Linked DNA regions of Homo sapiens: region 2 is linked to region 1. The links are contacts of gene promoters, found by promoter capture Hi-C in human tissues and cell types (Jung and others, 2019). All regions are on one chromosome and are shown on one strand. The core of a region is centred on a gene start or on the middle of the fragment in contact, and the rest is flanking DNA. Distances in the headings are between cores, read along the strand shown.

Region 1 (2,777 bases), core at 17-2,516:
CTACTTACTATGAGGCAGGACCTGTGCTAGATTCCTTTTTTTGGAGGGGGGATGGAATCTCACTCTTTTGCCCAGGCTGGAGTGCAGTGGCGCCATCTCAGCTCACTGCAACCTCTGCCTCCCGGTTTCAAGCGATTCTCCCTCCTCAGCCTCCCAAATAGCTGGGATTACAGGTGCCCACCACCATGCCTGGCTAATTTTTGTGTTTTTAGTAGAGACGGGGTTTCACCATGTTTGCGAGGCTGGTCTTGAACTCCTGACCTCAAGTGATCAGCCCGTCTCGGCCTCCCAAATTGCTGGGATTACAGGCATGAGCCACCGCACCTGGCGAAGGGAGAACTCTTAATGCTTTAACGGATTTTGCAAGTAAAGTCTGGATTAGTCAGGGTAGGTGTGAGGATCAAAGGGGAGCTTCACCCTACTAGCCTTGGCTCCAGTAGTTTATTCAATTACATTCAGCAGCAAGTATTGAACACTAATGATATGTAAAGTACTGTGATATAAAATAGTCCATGTCCTCAAATAATTTATAATCTTGTAGGAAAAATAAGACATACACAAATAAAAATAATGCAAAAACTTTAAGTTCCTTGAGAGAGGGCAACAAAGAATGATTCAAAGGCAAGAGAATCTATCCTATGGGATATATCCAAAAAGGCTTCATTGAAGATGTCAACTTGGGGATAACTTTGAAAGGCAGGATCTTAGAGAGGGAGGAATGTATCATGGAAAGAGGAAATAGAAATGTCTTGGATCAGCCTGTGTCCCCTTTCACTATAAGAGCCTGAAACAATGTGGCTTGTCTGTAATAGACACGTGAATCTCCACTCACGAATTGAGGGACTCCAGTTTGTAATTTATGTCCCCTACAGCCTACCTTTCCTTTTCTGCCCTGTGCTTAACCTAGTACATTGTGATGAAAGGTGGGACCTGGCCAACATAGTTTCTTCCCCCAAAATCGAAACATTCAACTTTAGGTTAAAGGTGGACACTTTCCCTAGTATATCTAATGATGGGCTGAGGCTCAGAGCTTTGCAGCTAAGCTCTGGCCTTATTGACTTAAATCATTTTAATGACACTTTAATATTAAAGAGTCACTGGGCCCAGTGTCTGTGAAATGCTCTCTGTGCCCTGCCTCTGCTAGAGCAGACACTGTGTGCAGGAAAGAAGACAAGAGAATGTAGGACAAGTCCTACTGGCCTTGCAAAGGTCCCACCCCCTAGTCCCTGTGACGCATCCAGTGCAGGTGACATGTTCTCTAAGGTGTGGATAGGCAATTAATTTCATGGAGAGTAGGAGGTGTGGGTTCAGCTGCTGCTTTTTTTTTTTTTTCAGTGAGGCATTATCTGAATGATGCTCATTCTCTCTTGAGTCTGGACTTCGTGCAACAAGCAGCAACTGGATATTATTTTAAAATAAGCATAAGCCACCCAAAGATACTGATCTGGGTCCTTCTTTTGGAAGAAGAGTTGATTGAGAAGTGCCTCTTGGTTAAGGATTAACCACAGGGAAAAATCCAGCAGAAACAGAAGAACTGTGGGTTTCTTACCCCAGCCCTCAAGGAAGCTATGCCGTGAAAGGGGTACTGATACACTGACATACAGCAAGTTGGACGGGGCATCAGTTCTTCATTTGTGGAGTGGAGAAAAGAAGAGGAAATCTCTCATTTGGGGCATTTGAAGGATGGCTTCCCTGTTTCATCAGCTTCAGATCCTGGTCTGGAAAAATTGGCTAGGTGTAAAAAGGCAGCCGGTGAGTTAAAAAAAAGTGTGGGAGTATGGGTCATGGGGCAATACGCCAGGTAATCCTAAAATGTGATCTTAATGAGAAGTGAAAACAGAAGAGTTTAAAGGCATTTTCCAAAGCAGGAAGTAAGATATTTAGAATTCATCCCCCTATCTGTCTTATAGCTAATGGAGCGAGTCTTAACATGCCCCCAAAAGCAGCCTTTTCATTTCAGTAAATTAAAGAGTAAACCAGGACATGCCCTGGGCAAAAAAAAAAGAACATGACTCATTACTGGCTGAACTGGAACGTTGAATTCTGGTTTCAAGCCAAAAGGCTTTCAGAATTTTTCTTAATGTAGTTAAAAATGGGATAGAGGAAAGAAAAGTATTATTTGAAATGTACAATAAATGGGAAGAAATATACTGGAAAACTGAAAGCCATAGAAAGTTTGGTTGAAAGGTAAAATACAGAACAGAAATAGTTTGAAGGCTATTAGTATAGAAAAGCTACTGAGAAATTTTAGTATCTAAAAATCATTTACTGGGAATACCAAACAAGAGTATGTATATGTGCTATGTTTTAAGAATATTATTGAATCACTTAGCTTTACTACTACAATCTATCTTCTCTTGCTCATTGCAACGTCTTTTTTGTACTCTTACATTAATGTTTGCGTTCTAATTACAAAGTTAGCTATTAGATCCTCATCAGATGGCTCCCAGGATGATTGAGAAAGGAATTGGTTTCTGGGAGTTGTTATATATTCAGAAGAATGTTTGAAAATCGGGGAAATCCAAAAAGGTATTCAATATACTTTATTTTAAAGTGGTAATTCCCAGCCTTGAATGAGTAATGTAAATATTATGCAAATAATATGCATCACACAGAAACCAGCACTTTATCTATGCACCTTATCTCGCTCCAGGCTTGCTTGGATTGCCTGACACTTTACTTGAGTGTTTTGATGTGTGTAGTAAGAGGAGGAAGTAGATGTTCATTTACCCTTGTGAATTTTGTGGGTAGGGTTTTAAAATTCTAAGGCATGTGAT
Region 2 (2,779 bases), core at 54-2,553, 43 kb after region 1:
GAAGGTGGGGGTAAAGGGCTTATTTTGCTTCAGGGAACTTTCTCTGAACCTCTATACCAGGTTAGTTTTCACTCCTACACCAGCCCTCCTTTATAATTGTAATTGACTAAGTATGCATTTATTTGATGTTTGTGCCTCTGGTCTTCCCTTCATAGGATCTATACCTAAGTCTGTTTTTCCCACAAATACAAGCAGTGCCTAGCGTATCAGATACTTAACAGTTAAGGAAATGCCCCCTTTTTCCTAAATTCCATTAGATTCTACTGGGAAATGAGTTTGAATCTATAAAATTAGACCAAGAGACCCGGAGTCATAAATACCAGGGTGAAGATATAGGAATATCTTTATTCCATAAGCAATGAAGAATGACCCATGGCAATAAAAATATGGAGTTTTGTGCATATTAATCAGATAGTGTCAGAAGACTAGATCAGGGCAAGGAAAGGCTGGAGAAAGAAAAAGAATTACACAGTTATTGAAATTATAATATAAAAAGTAGTGGGTACTCTAATGTAATTGGAGAAACAAAAATGGAGAAGAATGAGTAAGTCTTAAAGATACTGGGAAGAGGAAGTAGTAGAATATGGTAGAGACTGGATTTGGGGGACAAAGGAATGGTTTGAAATAAAAACACTCTTCTGGCTTTTGATTTGGGAGTCTGAGAAAACAGAATAGTGACAATAATGACTTCTTTCATGTAACTTATCTTTCAATTCTTGTACCAAACCTGAGAGATTAATTACTGTGATTTCCATTTCCAGATGAGAAAAATCAAAACTCTTAGAGAAGCAAGTAGAGCCTAATGATCAAACCCCTGGGCCTTTGATCAGGGTACTCAATTCAAATCTCAGCTTCACCTTTGTGTCATTGGGAAGTTAATTCTTCTGTGCCTCAGTTGGGGATAATCAAAGAACCTACTTCATAGCATTGTTGGGGAGTAAAATAAGAATAAAACTAATAAGATAGCATGTAATAAGATAATTTGTGGTATCACACAAAAGGATGCCTGCAGTCTATAGATGCATATAGTAAGGGCTCAATAAAAGATTACTATGAGTAGGTAACTTGCCCAAGATTAAACAGCTGGTAAACGGCAGAGCTTCCTACTTGAACCCAGGTCTTCTGGTGTATTTGTTATACATATTGTTATGCACGTCCGTGTGAAGAGACCACCAAACATGCTTTGTGTGAGCAATAAAGCTTTTAATCACCTGGGTGCAGGCAGACTGAGTCTGAAAAAGGAGTCAGCAAAGGAAGATAGGGGTGGGGCAGTTTTATAGGATTTGGGTAGGTAGTGGAAAATTACAGTCAAAGGGGGTTGTTCTTTTGCAGGCAGGGGTGTGGTCACAAGGTGCTCAGTGGGACAGCTTTTGAGCTAGGAGAAGAAATTTCACAAGGTAATGTCATCAGTTAAGGCAGGAACCGGTCATTTTCACTTCTTTTGTGGTTCTTCAGTTGCCTCAGGCCATCTGGATGTATATGTGCAGGCTTGGGCTCAGAGGCCTGACATTCCTGTCTTCTTATATTAATAGGAAAAACAAAACAAAATAGAGGTGAAGTGTTGGGATGGCAAAAATTTTTGGGGGTGGTATGGAGAGATAATGCGTGATGTCTCTCAGGGCTGCTTCGAGCAGGATTAGGGGAGGTGTGGGAACCTAGAATGGGAGAGATTAAACTGAAGAAAGATTTTGGGGTAAGAGGTGATATTGTGGGTTTGTTAGAAGGAGCATTTGTCGTATAGAATGATTGATGTGGCCTGGATGCGGTTCTGTATGAATTGGGAAACTAAATGGAAGACACAAGGTCCGAATAAGAGAAGGAGAAAAACAGGTTTTAAAGGACTAAGAATTGGGAGGACCCAGGACATCCAATTAGAGAGTGCCCAAGGGGGTTTGGTGTAATTACTTGCTTGGTTGGTGAGTTTTTGGGCTCTATCTTTGAGTTTTTTTATGTTGTTATATACTAGGCCAGATTGATTTAGGTAAAAACAACACTCTTCATTTAAAAATGTAGAGTCTTCCTTTTTCAGCAATGAGTAAGTCAAGGCCTATTCCTGTCGTCTTGTATTCATAATAAACAAAACAAAACAAAACAAAATAGTAGTGAAGTGTTGCTGTCATGAGGGGGACAGGGCACTGTTCGGTCCTATTTGCAAATTGATTTTTGGGGATAAGGAAAACTAGCATACATGTGCCTGTCCCATTGATAGGTAGACACATGTAGGTGGAGAAGCCACAGAGGAAGAAGAGAACTATGTAAGGCAAAACTGGAACTGTAAAGTGAAAAGATGAGAGGGAGCACCAAAAGAGATGATGTCTTGCACTCAGACTCTTAGGGATTTAGCGAGGGCAGCAGCTGTTAGAGGTTGTAATGGGGATTGATGGGGCAACTGGGTAGAGGGGGCGGTTCGATTTTTATGGTGTATTAGAAAGCACATAGTGTCTATGAGTAACCTTTCACTGCTATTCATGGGGCTGAGTATAAGCAAGCAAGAGGAGGGGCTAGGAGGAGAGTCTGAAGAACAAGGGGAAGGTAGCTAAGGATGGAGTGAAATGCAGGGCAAACGTCTTAAAGGAAATGAGAGGTTCTAAGAGGCAGGCTAGTGGCTTGTGACCTACATAGAAGAGGTTGTGAAACGACGATAGAATGGAATGAGCCTGTGAGGCTGGAAGGAGGTATTTTCCTTAGTCTAAGAACCATTTGCCTTGAGTGGGAAGGGATTGATAGGTGGACAACTTCAGTGGGAGAGCAAGTAGGAGTGACTGATGAGAAGCAGAAA

The links. Contacts are between HindIII fragments. The study calls those that stand out against the background at their distance.
Region 2: a fragment that was not itself captured here is called in contact with the fragment with the promoter of ABCA12 in region 1 in 1 of the 25 tissues and cell types used here (spleen).

Annotation. Positions count from the first base shown.
Region 1 is chr2:215,137,115-215,139,891 of GRCh38, reverse strand. ABCA12 (ATP binding cassette subfamily A member 12) reads left to right here and starts at 1,266. Exons shown (of 53, transcript NM_173076.3): 1 at 1,266-1,752. The coding sequence starts at 1,684. The HindIII fragment of the contact is 12,690 bases long and covers 1-2,777 here.
Region 2 is chr2:215,094,397-215,097,175 of GRCh38, reverse strand. All of the region lies in intron 2 of ABCA12 (ATP binding cassette subfamily A member 12), which reads left to right. Among named protein-coding and RNA genes, the nearest start is that of ABCA12, 43 kb to the left of the region's middle. The HindIII fragment of the contact is 3,163 bases long and covers 1-2,779 here.